Regions from separate parts of the Homo sapiens genome. Here regions 2, 3 and 4 are each linked to region 1. The links are contacts of gene promoters, found by promoter capture Hi-C in blood cells and fetal thymus (Javierre and others, 2016). All regions are on one chromosome and are shown on one strand. The core of a region is centred on a gene start or on the middle of the fragment in contact, and the rest is flanking DNA. Distances in the headings are between cores, read along the strand shown.

Region 1 (5,934 bases), core at 3,435-5,934:
TGAACATGTAATATCTTTCCATTTTTTGTGTCCTCATTAATTTTTTTCATTAGTGTTTTATAGTTTTCCTTGTAGAGCTATTTCACTTCTTGGTAAATTTATTCCTGTGTGTTTTATTTTTATTTTGGTGCTATTGTAAATGAGCTTCCTTTCTTGATTTCTTTTTCAGAATGTTCTTTGTTGGTGTATAGAACTGCTACTAGCCTGGGCAACATGGTGAGACCCCATCTTATCTCTACAACATTTAAAAAAAATCTAGCCAGGTATGCACCTGTGGTCCCAGCTACTTGGGAGGCTGAAGTGAGAGGATCGCTTAGGTCCAAGAGATCAAGGCTGCAGTGAGCCATGTTCGTGCCACTGCACTCCAGCCTGGGCAACCCAGTGAGACTGTCTAAAAAAAAATTAGAAATGCCACTGATTTTTGTATGTTGATTTTGTATTCTGCAACTTTACTAATTTGTTTATCAGTTCTAACAGTTTTTTCGTAGAGTTTTTAGATTTTTCCAGGTATAAGACGTGTCATCTGTGAACAAGGCTTATTTGACTTCTTCCTTTCAAATTTGGATGCCCTTTATTTCTTGTTCTTGCCTAATTGCTCTGTCCAGGACTTCCAGTATTATGTTGAATAAAGTGGTGAAAGTGAGCATCCTTGTCTTATTCCAGTTCTTAGAGGAAAGACCTTCCATTTATCCTCATTCAGTACAATGTTAGCTATGGGTTTGTCATACATGGCTTTCATTTTTTTTGAGCTATGTTATTTCTATAACCATTTTGATGAGGGTTTTTAATATGCTAAACTTTACAAAATTATTTTCCAGCATTTATTGAAATAATCATATGGTTTTTGTTTTTGCTTCTGTTTAGGTTATGTATCATGTTTATTGATCTGCATGTGTTGAACCATCCTTGCATTCCTGGGATGAATCCCACTTGATCATGAAGCAGGATAGGTAGTCAAAGAAGTAACCATGTTCTCAGGATGCAGTAACTGTGGTGACTATACAGTCAACACAATAAGCCTCAGTATTTGCATTGTAATTGAGCTCATTCAAGCAAAGCTATCTTCAGTAGGGACTTTCCCCTCTGGAGAGCATGAACAGTTTGATTTTACCTGTCCTCAAACTGACCCTTTGCTCATTATAATAGTAAAAAAAACCACCCCTGGGTGGAGATTTAAGATGCGAATGAGACATGCAATGTATGAACAATCATGTACAGCTACTGTGCATGGGCAAGAGGACCACCCAGAAGATGCTTACTACCAACACCTCTTCCAACCCTTTATGAATAATCGTGTAAGACTTCCATAAAGAGAGTCTTCCTAGTGCCAGTTTTTGCTGTCTCGCCCTTATGAGCAACAAAATTCTCTCTCCCAGGGTATATTATCTATTTTGCACCAAACTTTCAAAATATTATTATTATTTGAGATGTAGTTTCGCTCTTGTTGCCCAGGCTGGAGTGCAATGGCACGATCTTGGCTCACCGCAACCTCTGCCTCCTGGGTTCAAGTGATTCTCCTGCCTCAGCCTCCTGAGTGCCACCATGCCCAGCTAATTTTGTATTTTTAGTAGAGATGGGGTTTCTCCATGTTGGTCAGGCTGGTCTCAAACTCCCAACCTCAGGTGATCTGCCTACCTCGGCCTCCCAAAGTGCTGGGATTACAGGTGTGAGCCACTGCACCTAGCCCAAAATAGTCTTTTTCTTTTGCAATAAATTACTCTATGTTGCATCTCCTTTGCTGTGAGTCTGTTTAAATTTTCTTAAACTAAGAAGACAAGAACTGAGGTCTTGCATCAGCCATCAACAATCATGGTGAATGGTCTTTTTGATGTGCTGTTAGATTCAGTTTGCTAGTATCTTGTTGAGGATTTTGGCTCTATGTTCATCGGGAATATTGGCCTGTAGTTTTCTTTTTTTTGTTGTTGTGTTCTTGTCTGGTTTGGGTATCAGGGTAATGGTGGCCTTGTAAAGTGAGTTTGGAAGTGTTCCCTCCTCTTTAGTTTTTTGGAAGAGTTTGAGTAGGATTGGTAATGGTTCTTCTTTAAATGTGTAGTAGAGTTCAGTAGTAAGCAAAACAGCATGTGCCTTCGGCTCCTGGAGCAGAGGATCCCTGTCTCTCAGTGCACGCACCATGCCTGGCATGGAACTGGCCTCGGACTCCACTTGCAGCCTTAATAACTCCATTCTTTGGATTTTGCTGTCTTATATTTGCCTTTCGTAGAAGGCTGAGAAGTAAAAAAGAAAAATACCACTGGACTCACCTTCATGAACTAGTTTCAAAAACTTTCTGCTCACAGAGTAAAAACACTTCATATTTAGATCAAGGAAATGAATTAAACCTAATCAGTTTAAAATCACCCTCACTAGACCACACTTTTTTCTTTTGAGATGGAGTCTCTGTCGCCCAAGCTGGAGTGCAGTGGCGCGATCACTGCAACCTTCACCTCCCAGGCTCAAGCTATTCTCCCGCCTCAGCCTCCAGAGTAGTTGGGACTACAGGCGTACACCACCACAATCTATTTTTGTATTTTTAATAGAGATGGAGTTTCACCATGTTGGCCATGCCGGTCTCAAACTCCTGACCTCAGGTGATCCACCCACCTCAGCCTCCCAAAGTGTTGGGATTACAGGCCTGAGCCACTGCACCCGGCCTACAACAACTGCTTTGAAAGGGCTTTTTCTCTATGATTAGGAAGATCCATGTTTAGAAGCTTGGTAAATAAATCCAAAACCTCTTCCCAGACAATGAATTGACCCTTCGATGTCCTATGTTTTTTTTTTTTTTTTACCTTTGCTAGTCACTGTATCAAAAGTAAAAAATATTTTTATAATCTTACTATTTTTCTTACATCACAACTTACATAAAATGAGATGCACTTCTTTTTAAAAAGTTTTCAAAAGCATTTTGTTGTGGTTTTAGATGATTAATAGGTGATCAGTTTGAAGAGTGAGAATGAAAAAACCAGCACATGTGGGGGAAGGCTGGGGAAGGGATTTGATTATATATTTAAGTGACTGAATTCAGTTCTCTCTCATTTCCTGGACAATAGTTCTGTTTTTTTCAGATTATTCTGATCATTTCAAATTAAAGCGAAGACACATGATCAGTTCTCAAGTCCTATGTTCTCATTAGGAAAAATAGAAAAACATGCAACTCTAGCTGAATATGGTGGAAAATATTTTGTTAGAGGTCCTTTCATAGGGCCTTTGTCCAGATGTTTGGACCGAGGCCCCCGAGGGCATGGAGAGCCAGCCTGAAGGACAGCGTAGGGTGTGCCTGCAGGGAAGGTCGTAGCTCACCAGTGACAGAAGAGGCAGACTCCCCTTCTTCCAGGCCTTGGTCTTCTACATCCTAGCTCAGTGGTCATTTATTTGTCAGGCCCTTCATTTTACTGATTTAATAACGTGTTTAAGGCAGGGTGCGGTGGCTCACGCCTGTAATCCCAGCACTTTGGGAGGCCGAGGTGGGTGGATCATCTGAGGTCAGGAGTTCGAGACCAGCCTGACCAACATGGAGAAACCCATCTCTACTAAAAAAAAAAAAAAAAAAAAAAAATACCCCGACGTGGTGGCGCATGCCTGTAATCCCAGCTACTTGGGAGGCTGAGGCAAGAGAATAACTTGAACCCATGAGGTGGAGGTTGCAGTGAGCTGAGATCATGCCATTGCACTCGAGCCTGGGCAACAAGAGTGAAATTCCGACTCAATAATAATAATAATAATAATAATAATAATAACAACAATAATAATAATGTGTTTAAATAATTTATCTCATATCTCTGCACCTTCACTCCATTTCTTTTCAAAGAAACAGAGAAAAACAAAAACAAAATGTCATAGTTCTGGGCCGGGCACGGTGGCTCACACCTGTAATCCCAGCACTTCGGAAGGCTGAGGTGGGTGGGTCATTTGAGGTCAGGAGTTTGAGACCAGCCTGGCCAACACGGTGAAACTCCACCTCTACTAAAAATGCAAAAATTAGCCGTGCGTGGTGGTGGGCATCTGTAGTTCCAGCTGCTTGGGAGGCTGAGGCAGGAGAATCGCTGAGGGAGCCCGGGAGGTGGAGGTTGCAGTGAGCTGAGATTGTGCCACTGCACTCCAGCCTGGGCAACAGAGCAAGACTCTGTCTAAAAAAAAAAAAATAAAAGTCACAGTTCTACTTGACCCAGCAGCAGGCTTTAAAACCAGAGGCTTTAATTCTCCCAATTTCCTCATTTGTCAAAATGCAGAAGCCAATCTAAGTAAATCACCTAGAACGGCAGCAAGCTACGTAAGTTCGGGGCTGAAATGTGATATTTCTTCTGAATCTCTCTTTTCTTACAACATCAGAGAAATGGGTAATAAATAGCACCAAACCCAGGGGCTCCACATTTATTCCTCTTTCCGGAGGAAATAAATTCTAGCCACCATATTTCTCAATAGGAACCGATATGTAAGGAGAATGAATTTATTCATTCATGAGTCATGTATTCAATCCTGATAAAAATACTTTATTCTGGTCTTCAATAGCAAATATGACCGGAGAGCCAGAGGGTCAGTGGTCCTGCTCTGAGCTGTGCAGGTGGGGCTGTCTCTGGGTAGTGGGAGGGTCGGGTGGGTGTTTCTGACCTGGGCGTCTTTGCCCAGAGGAGCAGAAGTGAACACACGCCCTCCCACTGGGCTCTTCTGCTGACGTGGGTTGGTAGGACGGTTATGGCTCAGCTTAGGGTCCGCAGCTGGGCAATGAGGAGACTGGAGGGGCCTTTCTCAGGTAGTGGCGTCTGGTAATCAGCAGATGGCGCCCGAGGTCGCTGGGCCCGCCCCGCGTGCGGGTCTTTCTGGTTGACTCCCCAGGCTCTTGCGTGGGAACTCACCACTGAGCACTGAACGCAGTTCCTCAGTCCGAGACCTCCTCACTCTCGCAGGACGCACAGTTGCACACACAAGTCCCTCACCTGTCACGACCCACGCTCTTACATACTCTCCCACTCCCACCCACACCCCCTCTCTCAGATGTGTGATCCAGGATTTCCTCTCCACCCACAGCCGCAGACGCCCCCACGGTTCGTGCAAATGTGCACACTCGGTGCAGCAGATCCCCGCCTCCTGCACACGTGCGCGTTTTTCCAGCCTCGCACTTTATCTCACACGTTTTCTCACCCAGAGACCCCATTTCAGACACACACACCCTCTCAGCCTTTTCTCTTGCCTCCCAACCCCTTAAAACGGAAATCCTTTATTTCCTCCGGAATTTGCTCACTTCGTGAAATGCCGGTCTGTCTTCTGGCGGATCCTATAGGGCAGCCCTTTCCTGCCCCTTGGTTCCAACAGCCCCTTTCATGCCAGTTTTTGTCACGTGCCTCTTACCATGCTGAAGTGAAATTGACCCAGCCATCACACAATGCCCTAACTCAGGGGTCTGCAAACAATGGCCCCAGAAAGCTGTTTGTTTTCCCCCAGCTTTATCTGAATATGCTTGAAAAGTAAACATTGTATATATTTAAAGTGGGCAACCGGATATTTAATACACATTGTGAAATGATCACCGCAAACTAAAACACCCACCATCTTACATTGTTACCACTTTCTTTCTTTTTTGGAGGTGGGGTGGTTAAGGATCTTAAGATCTACTCTCTTAAGAAATTTCAGGTATACAACAGAGTGTTGTTACACGCTGTACGTTACATCTCCAGAACTTACTCATCTTGTATAACTGACACTTTATACCCATTAAACAACACCCCGTTTTCTCCAACCCTCAGTCCCTGGCAACGACTATTCTACTCTACTCTCTGCTTCTATGAGTTTGGTTAGTTTAGATTCCACATATAAGTGAGATCATGCAGTATTTATTTATTTATTTATTTATTTATTTTTCTTGATGTGGAGTCTCGCTCTGTCGCCCAGGCTGGAGTGCAGTGGTGCCATCTTGGCTCACTGCGACCTCTGCCTCCT
Region 2 (5,983 bases), core at 2,973-5,472, 510 kb after region 1:
ATCTCTGCTAAAAATACAAAAAATAGCCAGGTATAGTGGTGGGCACCTGTAGTCCCAGCTACTCAGGAGGCTGAGGCAGGAGAATCGCTTGAACCTAGGAGGCAGAGGTTGCGGTGAGCCAAGATGGAGCTACTGCCCTCAAGCCTGTGGGACAGAGTGAGATCCTGTCTCAGAAAAAAAAAAAAAAAAGGCCGGTCGCGGTGGCTCACGCCTGTAATCCTAGCACTTTGGGAGGCCAAGGTGGGTGGATCACGAGGTCAGGAGATGGAGAGCATCCTGGCTAACACGGTAAAACCCTGTCTCTACTAAAAATATAAAAAATTAGCCAGGCGAGGTGGCACGTGCCCGTAGTCCCAGCTACTGGGGAGGCTGAGCCAGAAGAATCGCTTGAACCCGGGAGGCAGAGGTTGCAGTGAGCTGAGATCGCGCCACTGCACTCCAGCCTAGGCGGCAGAGGGAGACTCCATCTCAAAAAAAAAAAAAAAAAAAAAAAAAGGAATCTGAGAAGTCCCAGGACGACTGTAATAATGCTAACAGTAATGACAACAGTGACCACCCCATTGATCCAGGGGATACCTGACTCGGCTAAGGGCACAGGCTGGGGTCAGACAGACGTGGATTGGGCTCTATTGTGCACCTGGGTGAGTTGTGATGTCGCACCTGGGTGAGCTCACCTCTCAGAGCCTCATCGGCTTCCTCACCTGGGGAGGATAATGGCTCTGCGGCCCGGCTGGGGAGAGAACCGAGGAGGGGTTGGGGTGTGAGCCCCCGCCGCTGCCCCTTCGCGGCCGGCATTCCGGCGGCGGGCACGGCCGGGGCACACCCCGTCGCCGTCCAGCGGATCTCCGGGCCCCGGGGAAGACGGCCGCTCCTCCTCCATGCCTCCGCGGGCGGATTCCCCCGCAGCCTCCCGCGCCGCGCAGCGGGGACCCGGGTGATTGCAAACAGCCGCCGGCCTCATTAGGAGACTTATAATTAGCGGCTGGCGCAGCCCGAGCCGGCGCGCGCTAATTACCGCGGGGAGCCCGCCCGCCCGGCCACCGCCGGCGTCTGCACCCTCCTGGGCCAGAAGGGGCCGGGCCTGGTCCAAGACTGGGAGGCCGCGGGCCGTGCCAATGTGCTTCCTCCCGGGGCTGTGCCTGTGGGGGAAAAGTAAATCATTTGTTCAGAACAGCGTTTACTTGCCGAGGGCGGTGGCACACGCCTGTAATCCCAACACTTTGGGAGGCCGAGGCGGGCGGATCACTTGAAGTCAGGAGTTTGAGACCAGCCTGTCCAACATGGTGAAATCTCTACTAAAAATACAAAATTAGCCGGGCGTCGTGGCAGGCGCCTTAATCCCAGCTACTCTGGAGGCTGAGGCAGGAGAATTGCTTGAACCCGGGAGGCAGAGGCTGCAGTGAGCCGACATGGCGTCACTGCACTCCAGCCTGGGCGACAGAGCAAAAAACTGTCTCAAAAAATTCCTGTTGTTTGGCTATATTTTCTTTTTTCTTTTCTTGTTTTTAAGACAGTCTTAAAAATCAGTCTCAAAAAACAAACAAAACAAAAAAAACAAAAACAAAAAAAGGGCTTACTATGCACTCGCTGTGCCAGGCATTTTGTCCACATGACCCCGCTTAAACTTCATATCCACCCACGAGGGAGGAACCATTGTTATCCCATTGCACAGATGAGGAAACTAAGATCTGAGACATGAATTAACCCTCCTGACAGCACCTGGCCGGGCCAGTAAATGACGGAGTAGCGAATCGAACCTCCATCTGTCGTCTCTCCATCTTATTACACTAAATGGACGAGTGAAATCCTGCACGGGAGAGCACCAACCGTGTTGACCAGAACAAGGAGTCAGCTGGCTTTGGGTTCGAATTCTGATCCTGCTCCTAACTGGATACGAGGCTTTGGTCTGAGCCCCAACTGCATCTATAAAATGGGCGAAGCATTGCTGTTGAAATGAAGGCTGGGAGGAGTGAAATTTCTATGAGGGGTGGAGCGCTCAGGAGTTGGGGGTGTCTTGCTCTCTCCGCGCACTGCGGACCTCTGGCGCCCCCTGTTGGCCAAAGGAGGATGTCGCAGACACTTTCTGGTGAAAAGTTGTTCTTGGGTGGGGAGTGCCGTCACTGTCACTGGTCCCTTGGCAGGGCCACGGCGTTCCCTCTTCCTATTCTTTTCTTCCCTACCTTCCCCCACATCCCTCCTTTAAGGTGGCCAAGAAGAGTGGGAGATGGGAAAATTCAGAACTCATTCCAGATCTTGCAAAAATAGGTTGTGAAAGCTGCCCCCATTACGGACCTCACAGGACCAGCCAAGGCCAAGACACTTCTACAAATAATCAGGGATGGGCATAAAGACTAAGCTACAAAGCCATGCATCAAAGTATTGGGTATAACAAGAAAATCTAGAAATAATGTAAACGTCTACCAAAGGGATACTGACCAACTTCACAATGGTACGTCCAAACAATGCAATACTGCACAGCTAAAAAACAGTATTGTCGCTGAAGAGCTGACATGAAAATATAGCCAAATGGCCAGGCGTGGTAGCTCACGCCTGTAATCCCAGCACTTTGGGAGGCCGAGGTGGGTGGATCACCTGAGGTCAGGAGTTCAAGACCAGCCTGGCCAACATGGGGAAACCCTGTCCCTACTAAAAATACAAAAATTAGCCAGTTGTGGTGGCACACACCTGTAGTCCCAGCTACTTGGGAGGCTGAGGCAGGAGAATCGCCTGAATCCAGGAGGCAGAGGTTGCAGTGAGCTGAGATCGTGCTCCAGCTTGGGCAACAGAGTGAGACTCCGTCTCAAAAAACTAAATAAATAAATACAAAAATTAGCTGGTCGTGGTGGCAGGTGCCTGTAATCCCAGCTACTCGGGAGGCTGAGGCAGGAGAATCGCTTGAACTCAGGAGGCAGAGGTTGCAGCCAGCCTCCTGGCTGCATTTATATAAAGTTTAAGAACAGGCAAAATTAATCTAGCAGGGTAGAAGTGGTAATAGTGGCTGATAGCAGTAAGCAATTTGACTGGAAGAGGGCTCAGGGAACCTTCTGGGATACTGGAAATGCTCTTTATTTTAATCTTGGAGGTGGTTATAGAAGTCTATCCATATGTAAAAATTCATTGAGATGAATACACTTAAGAATATGTACTTTATGTAATACCCCATAAGACATTTTTTTTAAAATACTTAAAAATAAAAGAAAAAACATAATTTAACAGAGGGCATAGTTCTCAAGCTGTTTTCTCTGTCTCAGGACCCCTTTACACACGTTACTGAGGGTGCCCAAGAGCTTTTAGTTTTGTGGGTTATATTTACTATGGACATTAAAGTTGAGAAACGTTTAAAAAACAATACACAATTCCTAGAGCAGTGACGTCATCACGTCAAGCAGCCTCTGGAAAACTTGACTGTTCACTCAGAGAGAATGAAAAAGACAAGTAACATCTTAGCATTATTATGAAAGTAATTTTGACTTCGGGGACTCCCAAATCGAGTGAATTTAGGAAATCTCAGTGGTCCCCAGACGGCACTTTGAGAACCACTGGCGCAGGGAGAAAATGACAGAAGAAAACACACTACACGACAACAGTTATTCTCTCTCAGTGCTGGGATTATAATTTATTTGCTTCTTTGTGCTTTTCTGTCAAAAAAAAAAGGTAAACGGAAATGGAAAATACAATGACCACGTATTGTTTCTGCGAGCAAAAAACGAGACGGCACACTCGCCTCCCTAAGATTGCTGAAAGGCCCAAACAGCAATAGCATATTTAGCTGTATGGAAGAATTAAACTGAGCTCAAACCTGAAAATAAAAGTCCGATTTCCCGTTTGTCAATGCCTGGGCTGTGAGGTGCAGGGTCTTGCCCTCAAAAGCTCCACCGTTCACCTTGGGGAGAGAATATACTCGCATACATAACTGTGGTGCAAGGTTCCCAGGGCCCCAAGGGTAGCGGCTACATCCTACACACTATTGTAAACTTCAGTGTGCAACAGAACCATCCATTACAGCTGCAAGGCGCTCCATCCCGGGGTTCAGCCCTCAAACTAGTCAGTGACCCTCCGCAGGACGCATGCGCGCTTACAAACGCAGTTGGGCGGGGCTTGAGAGAGCTGACAGACTTCGGCCTCTCAACTTTCTAGCTCCGCCCTAATATCCTGTCTCCTTCTCTGAATGGCTGAAAGGCTGCGGAAGCAAGCTTCCCATTGGCAGCGGACAGAATTCACATCCGGTTTGCACGCCGGACCGGAGAGCGCGGAGGCAGCCATGGTGCGGTTCAAGCACAGGTAAGCATTCCCTTCCAGACCCTCCCAGTGCCTTGCTGGGTCCTCGCGGCCCCGCTAGTGTCCACCTTCCTCTCGCCTGCCGCAGGTACCTGCTCTGCGAACTGGTGTCTGACGACCCCCGCTGCCGCCTAAGCCTCGATGACCGAGTTCTGAGCAGCCTCGTACGGGACACGATCGCCAGGGTGCACGGAACTTTCGGCGCAGCCGCCTGCTCCATCGGCTTCGCGGGTGCAAGGGCGCTGGGGGAAGAGGGGAACCCGGGAGGATGGCGGGATGTGGAGGGGGCAGGCGCCGGAGGAAGAAAGAAGGGGCACGAGTGGCCAAGCCCGTGCACCGTTTTTTGTAAGGTATCTCTTTAAGCGCCTGGGACCCCAAGCGAGAGTCCGAAATTAGCAGAGCGCTAAAAGGAGGGGCCCGAAGGCAGTGGGGCTTTGAGCTAGAAGCCTCTTTTTACCTGCTTGACAGGTAATTTCTGTAATTGGTTGTGATTGAATTTGATAGGGTAGAGAATTAAATGAGGGAAGCTGTGTATACTTCCTAGTAAGAGCTATTATATGACCGATTACATTAACATCATATGGAAAAAAATTGTCAAAAGTACTCCGGGAAAGCCCTTAAATAGTTGGTAAAGTACAGAACACATGATTGTCAATATATGTAAATACAGGATGAGCTAGGACAGAGGGGCCCTTCTTTCACACCACTTAAATTAGTTCCCACTTTAACCTTGTTTGAGATTGACTTCTGGAGAGTTAAATGCAGATAGACTTAACTCTCCTAAGTCAGGTGAGACTGAGAGCTGACTGCTACAATAATTACGGAGCCCAAATGCAGTAAAACAGCCTGTTTTTCAGGCAAGGGTTTTGTGGGGGTTTTTCCTAAATTAAAACGGATCGCCTCCTACCTGCTCCTATTTATTGAATTAACTAGTGAATTAGAAAGCATTTTCAATTCTAAATTCATTCACCAGTTCTGAGTGGTGTGCAACACAGTGGGTGTTTTGGCTTTTCTCTTTTACTCGCTGATAGATCTACGTGCCACTTGCCTACAACATACTTTTGGCACATAGTAGGCTCTGTTACTCCAAAGTTTTCCTTTTTTCGAGACAGTCTGGCTGTTGCCCAGGCTGCTGGAGTGCAGCAGCGAGATCGGGGGTCATTGCTGCCTCTGCCTCCTGGGTTCAGGCGATTCTCATGCCTCAGCCTCCTGAGTGGCTGGAATTACAGGTGCGCACCACCACACCCAGCTAATTTTTGTATTTTTAGTAGAGACGGGGTTTCATCATGTTGGCCAGGCTGGCCTCGAACTCCTGACTTAAAGTGATCTGCCCGCCTCAGCCTCCCAAAGTGCTGGGATTACAGGCGTGAGCCACCACACAGAGCAAAAGTTTTCCAAAATGATTTTTCTTTCCTGTTGTAGTTCGATATCTCAATGCCTATACTGGAATAGTGCTACTTCGATGCAGAAAAGAATTCTATCAGCTTGTGTGGTCAGCTCTTCCCTTCATCACATACTTGGAGAACAAAGGACACCGTTACCCATGCTTTTTCAACACATTACATGTGGGAGGTAGGAGTGAGGTGGTATGGCTACTGATTTTCAATTGGTGACACGTTCACAGTTCAGTCTAAACTGGTGGGTGGGTCTTGCTGCTGTCCCGCTAACAAGACACTTCCCCCTACCTCTGAAAGTCTGTAAGGTC
Region 3 (5,544 bases), core at 909-3,408, 790 kb after region 1:
GGGGTTTCACCATGTTGGCCAGGCTGGTCTCGAACTCCTGAGCTCATGTGATCTGCCCACCTCAGCCTCCCAAAATGCTGGGATTACAGGCGTGAGCCACTGCGCCCGGCCCCAGTCCTCAAGTTTCATTGAGACAATCCTCAGGCATGTCCTAGACAGTTGGAGGGTCCCTCACAGGACTGAACCCCAGTGCCCAAGGCAGTAACCCACTCATTAACACACACTTTCTTGGCTTTCCTCTCTTTCCTGTTTTACATCCTTGCTCCGTCAATGAATTTACTGGAATCAACTGCAAAATAAACAACTTGCTCTGAAATCCTTTTCTCAAGGTCTAAGACTGTGGTGATCAAGACAGCCAAGGTCCCTACTCTCCCAAAACAACACACGGGTTTGCGTTCAAACCGTGTACAGCTCCTGCACCTGTCCATGCATCCGTGGAGCTCTGTCAGGCGCCGACTCCCCGCCTTGGTGTGCAAAGCATCCACATTTTGGGTCACCAACCAGTACAGCTTTCCGAGTTTCTCCCAGGTGCTCAAAGCCCAGTGTGCAGGGTTAGGCTGGTGGGAGGAGAATTGAGGCCAGCCTACGAAGTTTCTCGCCCAGTACCGCTGGCGGATTGGGGCACTCCGGACAAAATCACCATGCTGGATGGGCCTGCGGTCAGTGCGGGCATAAAGCCCCACTTTTTCTGACCTGTAGTCTGGTATCCCCGATTCGGTGGAGATTCCTGCCCCAGTCATCACAAGGAGTCTCTTGGAAAGGGTGATGAAGCGCTGTAACTCTTTGACCTTCTCAGGGTCCAGAGGAGGACTTGCTGGCACAAATAACCCAATGGAGGCTTTCGAGCACGGCTGGCTGGGGTTTGCGATCCAACGGCCTTTTGCTGACCTGAAAGTCAACGCAAAGCTCATCTTCATTCTAGAGAAAAAGAAGCCTCATGTGAGAAACTGGGGTGGTTTTTTTTTTTTCTCATTTTTTGTTTGTTTGTTTTCGTTTTGTTTTTTGAGACAGAGTCTCCCTCTGTTGCCCAGGCTAGAGTACAGTGGCATGATCTTGGCTCACTGTAACCGCCGCCTCCCGGGTTCAAGTGATTCTCCTGCCTCAGCCTCCAGAATAGCTGGGACTACATGGCCACCATGCCCGGCTAATTATTGTATTTTTAGTAGAGGCAGGGTTTCACCATGTTGGCCAGGCTAGTCTCGAACTCCTGAGCTCTAGTGATCTGCCCGCCTCGGCCTCCCAACGTGCTGGAATTACAGGTGTGAGCCTCTGAGTCTGGCCCTAATGAGTCAGGTTTTGTTTGATTTTGTTCATGTAATTAAGCACACACACGCATTCCTTTTATTTTTTCATTTCCCCCTTATTTTAGTTTACCCTCCACTGCAAGCTCTGCTACTTGGACACATCAGAGAGACAAGACCCCTGCCCGTCAGCTTTTCTAGCTGTAACAATAGAGGGCCGGGTGCGGTGGCTCACGTCTGAAATCCCAGCACTTTGGGAGGCCGACGCAGGCAGATCACTTGAGATCAGGAGTTCGAGACATGCCTGGCCAACATGGTGAAACCCCGACTCTACTAAAAATACAAAAAAAATTAGCCGGGCATTGTGGCACGTGCCCGTAATCCCAGCTACTAGGGAGGCTGAGGCAGGAGAATTGCTTGAACCCGGGAGGCGGAGGTTGCAGTGAGCCGAGATCGCGCCGTTGCACTCCAGCCTGGGCGAAGAAGCAAGACTCCGTATCAAAAAAAAAAAAAAAAAGAAAAAGAAAAAACTTTGACATATTATTTGACACAATGCAATGCATAAATCCTCTAGTGACATGCACCCCGTATGTAAACATTATTTTATGTTTGGCTTTCCAGATCTGAGATCAGGACCCCGCTTTCTCCTTGACATTCCACAGCAAAACGTGAACAGCTGAACAAACACACAGTCCGGTTTCCCGAGACCAAAGGGTCAGGGGAAACCCCCGCTGAAAACGTGCATCAGTGGAACAACTACTCTCTTCCAGGTCCCACCGAGGGCAAAGAGGAGAAATAGAATCCCTCACAAGAAATCCACAACTTCTAGAAATCCGCAGCACACACAGAACACACTTACCTCTCACAGCTCTACGGACACTTCACACCCCACAGTGGGACCGTCTGATTGCATTTGCATTTTGGGACATGTAGTCCAGAAAGCTTAAATGATGCGAGAAAAACCACAAGTCCCACAATCCTCCGCGTCTCGCAATTGACAGCCCCAGATCATCCAGGAACGCCCCCTGTCGGCTCTTTCTGGTCAGAGGTTCCCCCGTTAATATAAAAGCTTTTAATCATGGATTTTTTTCTTTGTTTTCAATTTCTGTGGGCACTTAGTAGGTGTATATATTTATAGTGTACATAAGATTTTTTTTCTTTTTTCTTTTTTTTTTTTAAGACGGAGTTGTTGTTTTTTTTTTTTGAAAAAACTCCAGTCTGGAGTGCAGTGGCACGATCTCGGCTCACTGCAACCTCCCTCTCCCGGGTTCAACCGATTCTCCTGCCTCAGCCTCCCGAGTAGCTGGGATTATTTTTGTATTTTTAGTAGAGACGGGGGTTTCGCCATGTTGGCCAGGCTCGTCTTGAACTCCTAACCTCAGGTGATCCGCACGCCTTGACCTCCCAAAGTGCTGGGATTATAGGCGTGAGCCACTGCGCCCGGCCATCTTTTCTCTTATTTTTTGTCTTTTTTTCTTTTCTCTGTGCCTGTCTATGCTTTACCCACATGAGATGTTTTGATACAAACATGCAATGTGAAATGAGCACGTCATTAATCATGGATCTAGATTTGACTTTTTTTTAAAGTTTTTGTATTTTTAGTAGAGACAGAGTTTCACCATGTTGGCCAGGCTGGTCTCGAACTCCCGACCTCAGGTGATCCGCCAACCTCGGCCCCCCAAAATGCTGGGATTACAGGCCTGAGCCACTGTTCCCGGCCTAGATTTGACTCATTCTAAACATCAGAGTTTGTGATCCTTTTCATTCACAACGACAGTATCAAGTTATTTGCTATTGGTAAAATACCTTGAACTTGTGAAGAAATGTGTTTATACATATCTGAAAAAGTGATAGTTTGTTGTTGTTGTTGTTGTTGTTTGTTTGTTTGTTTTTGAGACGGAGTCTCGCTCTGTTGCCCAGGCTGGAGTGCAATGGTGCCATTTCGGCTCACTGCAACCTCCGCCTCCCGGGTTCAAGCAATTCTCCTGCCTCAGCCTCCTGAGTAGCAGGGATTATGGGCGCATGCCACTACGCCCGGTTAATTTTTTTATTTTTAGTAGAGACAAGGTTTCACCATGTTAGCCAGGATGGTCTTGATCTCCTGACCTCGTGATCTGCCCACCCTAGCCTCCCAAAGTACTGGGATTACAGGCGTAAGCCACTGTGCCCAGCCAAAAGTGATGTTTTTACAGTTAATATGAAGCCAAATATATTATACCTGGACTAATGTACTTAACCTGCTTGGCTTCTCCAATTTTATTTATCATATTTTTTTTATTAAGTTAATCAAACAAGGCCTGCGTCTCACTCCCAGGGATTCTGATCTACAAATTTCCTAATTGTTCCTAATGTGTAGACAACCAGAACTGCCGCTCTGCAGCATCACCTAAATCAATAAATGTATAAGTGTCTTTGGACATAAAGGTGGGCGGCCAGCAGGGACCTTGAAGACCACCTAAGGACTCCCTTCCCCCATTTTAAGATGAATTGGGCTGAGTGCAGTGGTTCCCACCTGTAATACCAACACTTTGGGAGGCCAAGGCAGGAGGATCACTTGAGCCCAAAAGTTCAAGACCAGCTTGGGCAACATAGTGAGACCCACTCACTACAAAAAATAAACAAAATTAGCGGGGTGTGGTGGTGTGTGCCTGTAGTCCCAGCTACTCAAGAGGCTCAGGTGGGAGGATCACTTTGAGCCCAGGAGATCGAGGCTGCAGTGAGCCATAATTGTGCGACTGCACTTCAGCCTGGGTGACAAAGTGAGATCCCATCTCTTCAAAAAATAATAATAATAAATAAAGATGAACTGAAGTGCAGAGAAGTAATGTGGAAGCTTGAGAAAGAGTTTTTAGGTTTTTGGTTCTATCATTGTATCTTTGGAGGTAATATTGGCAAAATGACCATTTAGTAGTTTGCCCATTTCTGCTTTTTTTTTTTCTTTTTTTTGAGACAGGGTCTCGTTCTGTCACCCAGGCTGGAGTGCAGTTGTGACATCACAGCTCACTGCAGTTTCTACTTCCCAGGCCCAAGGGATCCTCCAACCTCATCCTCTCGAGTAGCTGAGATCACAGGCATCCACCACCACGCCCAGCTAAATTTTGTTATTTTTTATTTTTGTCGAGACACGGTCTCACTATGTTGCTCAGGCTGGTCTCAAACTCCTGAACTCAAGGAAAGCTCTTGCTTTGGCCTCCCAAAGTGCTGGGATTACAGGTGTGAGCCACCATGCCGGGCCTGCTTATTTCGACTTGGCAGCATCGTTTCATGAAGCCCCTGACTCTGTGACAACATACAGCTCTCCAGAAAGATGCTTTGAAGACAAAACAGAATAGAGCACACAGCCCTCCATGTCTCTTCCAAGTCACTATATTCATTAAAAGATAAATGACTCTGGTCATTGCCTTTTCCTGCACAAGATAATGTCTGATGGGGTTAGTGATGATACCTCTGTAATCCATAACCAGATATACTCTTGCACCCAAACTTTGATATGATTGTGCTTTAATGTAACTTTGAAGCAAGTTTAATGTGATTTTGCAGGCGCCGTACACTCACCACTTGTATATGAGTGGCTGAAATTCTGTGTTGGACCAGTCTGATGGAACTGCTCCCACACTATAGCCCTCGGTCTGTAATCCTCAGTAAGACTTGTAAGTAAAACTAACTTTAATTTTTTTTTTTTTTTTTTGAGAGAGTCTAGCTCTGTTGCCCAGGCTGGAGTGCAGTGGCGCGATCTTCACTCACTGAAGCCTCTGCCTTCCCGGCTGAAGTGATTCTGCTGCCTCGGCCTCCGGAGTAGCTAGGATTACAGGCGCTCGCCACTGCGCCCGGCTAATTTTTGTATTTTTAGTAGAGATGGGGTTTCGTCATGTTGGCCAGGCTGGTTTTGAACTCGTGACCTCAGGTGACCCACCTGCCTCAGTCTCCTAAAATGCTAGGATTACAGGAGTGAGCCACTGCACCCCGCCACTTTTATTATTATTATTATTGTATTTATTTATTTATTTATTTATTTTTGAGACGGAGTCTCGCTCTGTCGCCCAGGCTGGAGTGTAGTGGAGAGATCTCGGCCCACTACAAGCTCCGCCTCCCGGGTTCACGCGATTCTCCTGCCTCAGCCTCCGGACTACAGGCGCCCGCCACCACACCCGGCTAATTTTTTGTATTTTTTTTTTAGTAGAGACGGGGTTTCACCGTGTTAGCCAGGATGGTCTCTATCTCTTGACCTCGTGATCCGCCCGCCTCAGCCTCCCAAAGTACTGGGATTACAGGCGTGAGCCACCGCGCCCGGCTATTTATTTAT
Region 4 (5,479 bases), core at 2,980-5,479, 660 kb after region 1:
GCAACAAAAGCGAAACTCTGTCTCAAAAAATAAAATAAAATAAAATAAACCAGCTCTGGCCAGGCACAGTGGCTCAGACCTGTAATCCTAGCACTTTGGGAGGCTGAGGTGGGCAGATCACCTGAGGTTAGGAGTTCAAGACCAGCCTGGCCAACATGTGAAACCTTGTCTCTACTAAAAATACAAAAAAGTAGCCGGGCGTAGTGGCGGGCGCCTGTAGTCCCAGCTACTTGGGAGGCTGAGGCAGGAGAATGGCGTGAACCCGGGAGGTGGAGCTTGCAGTGAGCCGAGGTCCCGCCACTGCACTCCAGCCTGGGCGACAGAGCGAGACTCCATCTCAAAAAAAAAAAAAAAAAAAAAAAAATAATAATAATAATAATAATAATAATTGCCCTCTCAGAGTGGTTTTGTAACTACTACTACTACCATTTACTATCCATTAAAGCAGGATAGTTTTAATTCCACAGAAAAGCCAATAAGCAGAAATGTGTCACGCTCCCTTTGTTTCTCTTAAGATTTCTGACCCTACCAGCCCTGAAGGAGATTACCTCAAAGTAAGAACTTGACACATTCGAGGCCAGGCACGGTGGCTCACGCCTGTAATCCCAGCACTTTGGGAGGCTGAGGCGGGTGGATCACGAGGTCAGGAGATCGAGACCATCCTGGCTAACATGGTGAAACCCTGTGTCTACTGAAAATACAAAAAATTAGCTGGGTGTGGTGGCGGGTGCCTATAGTCCCAGCTACTCGGGAGGCTGAGGCAGGAGAATGGCTTGAACCTGGGAGGCAGAGCTTGCAGTGAGTGGAGATCGTGCCACTGCACTCTAGCCTGGGCAACAGAGAGAGACTCCGTCTCAAAAAAAAAGAAAAAAAAGAACTTGACATGTTCAAGAAAATTATGACTACAGGGAAGATTCTGCAGTAAATGCTAGTGGAATGGGACAGGAAAAAGATGAGACCCAGATCAAGCACTTCCTCTTGAGAAATACAGATACCTCTTTCAGGTGTAAATTGCAGGCATTCTGCTAGCCATTCAATGTCTTTGATATCTCAGGCCCGTCAAGGACCAATCTTTTGTTTTTTGAGACAGAGTCTCACTCTGTTGCCCAGGCTGGAGTGCAGTGGCACGATCTTGGCTCACTGCAACCTCCACCTCCCGGGTTCAAGCCTCTACACCCAGCTATAGGAGTGCGCCACCACACCCAACTAATTTTTGTATTTTTAGTAGAGACAGGATTTCATCATGTTGGCCCGGCTGATCTCCAACTCCTGACCTCAGGTGATCTGCCAGCCTCAGCCTCCCAAAGTGCTGGGATTACAGGCATGAGCCACCGCACCTGACCAAGGACTAATCTTGATGCTTAATTAGCACCACTCCACTTGGTCCCTTTATCCACATCAGGCACAATAAACCAAGAGGGGCTGTTATAAACACTTATTCAATGGGCTGAATTGGACCTGTAACACTAAACAGCAGCCTAGACCTTCACTGTGGAAACAGAAATAACTAATGCCAATTTCTTTTCAACTTGGACACTGACTTGAAGCTCAAATGCTAATTTCTGCGAAAAAACACAACCAAAGAAAGTAACTCTCAGCTCATGACCAATCTAAATTTAAGTTATTTATTTAAGCCATCTCCTGCCACAAGCAAAGGGATGGGAGACCAGTATACCAGTCATCATTTGATACAAGTAAAGAAGGTGAGCTTAAGGTCCCATATACTTTTTCTGGTCCATGTGCAGAGTAACGGTCCAAACCAGTGCTGTGGTCCCTGGTGCCCGGGTAGTGGTCCAGATTCTCTTTATTCATCTTCGTAGCCAGTTGGAAGTGGATTCACATGAGGGTTATGGAATAGAGTATGGTTACCATCTCCCCAGGGAAACGGCTGTGGAGTGAAGATGTCAGTTAGATAATTCCAGAAAATAATTTAGAAAGAACACCGTCATGAACTGCTTATAACGGGGTGACAGATCATATATAAAAACAAAATGGAAATTAGTCCTTTATCTACTGGTGTAGTTCAACCTTCCCATTATTTAAGGAGCTCTTATAACTACCAGGGGAGCCCTTAAAGTTATCCTGGCTACAGGACAGTTTTAATTCCAGAAACAAATATGGATGGCAGAAAATGCAAGCTCAAGTTAGTTACTCATCATCCTCTCCCTAGTAACTAGTATATCCAGTGCTGTGTTTATGAAAGTGTAATCCTCAAATCACCTATATCAAAATGGTGGCAGTATTAGGGGAGGGAGATGCTTAATTAAATGCAGATTTCTGGCACCATCCCAGACTTCAAACAATATCTGGGCTGGGAAACTGCAGCCCACCCTGAATTATCTTGCCTATTACCTTTGAAAAGCATTACTTTAGGGCAACGGTCTCCAACCCAGGGTGATTTTGCCCCTTCAGGGCACACTGGGTAGTATCGGGAGACACTGTGATGGGGGCGGGGGAGGGGGAAGCGGGAGTGGGGTTGCGCAGGTACTACTGCCACCTAGTGGGTACAGGCCAAGGATATGGCTAAACATTTCACAATGCACAAGATAGCCCCCCAACAAGAATTACCCAGCCCCAAATGTCAACAGTGCTGAGGCTGAGAAACCTTTACTGTTTGGCTTCTAATTGCATTGTACAAGGATGGGAGTGCCGCTCAAAGACTCAACAAATTCAAGAGTCTAGGTTAAGTTTCTACAAGGCCAGTCCTATATGGGCTAGGTGATGTAATAATAATAATAATAATAATAACTTTTTTCATCACTTCTCGGCCTTTTGGCTAAGATCAAGTATATTATTACTATTTTTTTTTGAGACGGAGTTTCACTCCTGTTGCCCAGGCTGCAGTGCAATGGCTGGATCTTGGCTCACTGCAACCTCCTCCTCCTGGGTTCAACCTCCTAGATTCTCCCACCGCAGCCTCCCGAGTAGCTGGGATTACAGGCGCCCGCCACCACGCCCGGCTACTTTTTGTACTTTTAGTAGAGATAGTGTTTCGCCATGTTGACGAGGCTGGTCTTGAACTCCTGACCTCCGGCGATCCACCCACCTTGGCCTCCCAAAGTGCTGGGATTACAGGCGTGAGCCACCGCGCATGGCCAGTATTGAAGAATCAGAATAAGCCCTTGTTAAAGATACAGCAAACAACAGAGGACACAACATTGTAATATATCTACATCAACAACCAATGATAAAACAGTCGAGAAAAGGTATTGGTGGGGAATAGAGAAAGCTGTCAGTCTCTTCATTATGCAACTAGTAGCTGCCAGATGCCCATGTTTTGTTGTTGCTGTTTTGTTTTGTTTTGAGACCAGAGTCTCGCTCTGTTGCCCAGGCCGGAGTGCAGTGGCACGATCTCAGCTCCCTGCAAACTCCGCCTCCTAGGTTCAAGGGATTCTCCTGCTTCAGCCTCCCATGTAGCTGCTGGGTTCGCTTACGCGAACCACCTTCAGACTTTGCCACTCTAATTGGATTTCCCAAACCTCCAGGCTTTACACAACGGACACCTGTTTCAGAACTGTCTCAGAAGTAAAAAAAAAAAAAAAAAAAAAAAAAAGAACTGTCTCAGAAGGCAGGAGGTAGGATGAATCGGAGAAAAGGGAAACTGAAGAGCACTTATTGTATGACCTTGAAGAAGAGAATTGAGACGTAATCCCAAGTGTCAGCTGTCCATCCACAAAATGGAAGAAAATACATTTTCTGTTTGTGAGGATAAACAAGCTGTACACGCCTGGCACCCATGCCTTCAGAGAATGAAGAACTTGCACTAAGGCACACATAACGAAAAGAGAACGGACGCTTGAAGAGATGTACAAGGGCGTACCTTGGTCCTGATGCGGAGATGGGGGTAGGCGATGAACTCGGGTCTCTCGTGCTCTCCGTGGTGCGACTTCAGGTACACATTCAGCATGCTGACTGCCACCCCGGGGAGCGCGACGAAGAAGGTGAGAGTCTTCCACATGCGAGCTGCGGAGAAGCCACAAACGTTCAGCGCCGGTATGGGGCGGGCCCGGGTCTCACTTTCCCTCCCGCAAGGCCTCGGGCCAAGGTCACAGTCCCTCCCTGTCTCGCCCGAGTGGGGCTGAGGCTCGACCCGTCGACCCCGGCCCCAGTACCTGAGCCCTCTTCGCCATGGGCGCCACTCGACATAGGCCGCCCCAGCTGTGGGCGGGACCGACCCAGCAGCCGAGAAACCGAGGACACACCAACTACCGCCATTTTTGATCTGGACTGCCGCAGCGCCGGAAGCGGAAGTGGAAAATTGGCTCTGGGGGCGGTACTACAACCTCCAAAGGAAGTTACTATTGGGCGCCGCCCTCCCACTGGCATTAACCTGAGCACTATCATCCGGGACGACGGAGTCCTTGTCAAAATCCTCGGCATCTCGGGCAAGAGAGAGCATGCGCTCTGCACCTCCCTTCAGGCTTTACCGTTTCCTTCGTGCGCATGCGTGTGCCCTCCGGTCTCCCTACCGTCCCCACCTGGGCGAGGCGGAAGCTCAAGAGAGGTTTGTGCAGGGTGCCCTGGTACCTGGAATCGCTCCCTTCGTTGGAGTCCATGGACGGGCATCTGGAGGTTCTGATCCCAGACCGCCCTATCTAAAATTCCGTTCCCCTTCCTCGCCATCCTCCGACTGCGTTTTCTCATAGCACATAACATTGCACCTTCGTCGTTATATTATTATTTTGTCTGTCTCCCCCACTAGAATATAAAGTCTGTGATACCAAGAGTTTGGCACTGCAGCATTCTCAGAATAATCTGGGAATGGTGTAATTTGGAATCATACCTGGCACATACCAGATACTTGATATAAATTTGCTGAATGAATGGATGAATGAATGAATAGCAACAGAAAGTATAAAGAGCACTGAAATTGGTGCCAGCAGACCTGGATCCTAATCCTGACTCAACAGTCTCATCTTTTTTTTTTTTTTTTTTTTTTTTTTTTTTGAGACGGAGTTTGACTCTTGTTGCTTAGGCTGGAGTGCAGCGGTGCAATCTTGGCTCACTGCAACCTCTGCATCCCAGGTTCAAGCAGTTCTACTGCCTCAGCCTCCTGAATAGCTGGGATTACAGGCACGCACCACCATGCCTGGCTAATTTTTTTTTTTGTACTTTGGTAGAGACAGGGTTTCACCATATTGGCCAGGATGGTCTCCATCTCCTGACCTTGTGATCCGCCTTCCTCGGCCTCCCAAAGTGCTGGGATTACAGGCGTGAGCCACTGTGCCCGGCCTTTTTTTTTTTTTTTTTTTTTTTTTTCAATAGGCCCCTTTGAGAATGTAATGAGGACCAGCGTGGTGGCTCATGGCTGTAATCCCAACACTTTGAGAGGCCGAGGCGGACAGATTGCTTGAGCTTGAGAGTTTGAGACCAGCCTGGGCAACAAAGCTTTTTTCTTTATTAGAAAAAAAAAGAATCTAATGAAAGCTTTGAACCCTTTCCTCTAAAGACACACCTATGTGTAAACACACAGTATAGC

What was found. Contacts are between HindIII fragments. The CHiCAGO score rates a contact against its expected background, and 5 or more counts as called.
Region 2: a contact is called between the fragment with the promoter of POP5 here and a fragment that was not itself captured in region 1, in 11 of 17 cell types (total B cells, naive B cells, naive CD4 T cells and 8 more). The highest score is 17.2, in total B cells.
Region 3: a contact is called between the fragment with the promoter of SIRT4 here and a fragment that was not itself captured in region 1, in 1 of 17 cell types (total B cells). The highest score is 6.6, in total B cells.
Region 4: the fragment with the promoter of COX6A1 here is called in contact with a fragment that was not itself captured in region 1 in 1 of 17 cell types (total B cells); the score reaches 6.4 in total B cells.

The regions. Positions count from the first base shown.
Region 1 is chr12:121,094,965-121,100,898 of GRCh38, reverse strand. LOC105370031 (a long non-coding RNA gene) reads left to right here. Exons shown (of 4, transcript XR_945458.2): 4 at 170-209. Among named protein-coding and RNA genes, the nearest start is that of P2RX7, 35 kb to the left of the region's middle. The HindIII fragment of the contact is 3,941 bases long and covers 2,714-5,934 here.
Region 2 is chr12:120,579,641-120,585,623 of GRCh38, reverse strand. POP5 (POP5 ribonuclease P/MRP subunit) reads left to right here and starts at 4,222. Exons shown (of 5, transcript NM_015918.4): 1 at 4,222-4,281; 2 at 4,367-4,509; 3 at 5,701-5,850. The coding sequence starts at 4,262. RefSeq lists silencers at 690-759, 790-1,159. The HindIII fragment of the contact is 2,825 bases long and covers 4,196-5,983 here.
Region 3 is chr12:120,298,935-120,304,478 of GRCh38, reverse strand. It overlaps SIRT4 (sirtuin 4), which reads right to left and starts at 2,158. Exons shown (of 4, transcript NM_012240.3): 1 at 2,101-2,158; 2 at 421-918. The coding sequence starts at 917. The HindIII fragment of the contact is 5,713 bases long and covers 1-2,185 here.
Region 4 is chr12:120,436,863-120,442,341 of GRCh38, reverse strand. It overlaps COX6A1 (cytochrome c oxidase subunit 6A1), which reads right to left and starts at 4,229. Exons shown (of 3, transcript NM_004373.4): 1 at 4,113-4,229; 2 at 3,821-3,963; 3 at 1,612-1,888. The coding sequence starts at 4,215. The coding sequence ends at 1,805. It also overlaps the pseudogene LOC124903126. RefSeq lists enhancers at 3,535-4,056, 3,983-4,192. The HindIII fragment of the contact is 8,043 bases long and covers 1-5,390 here.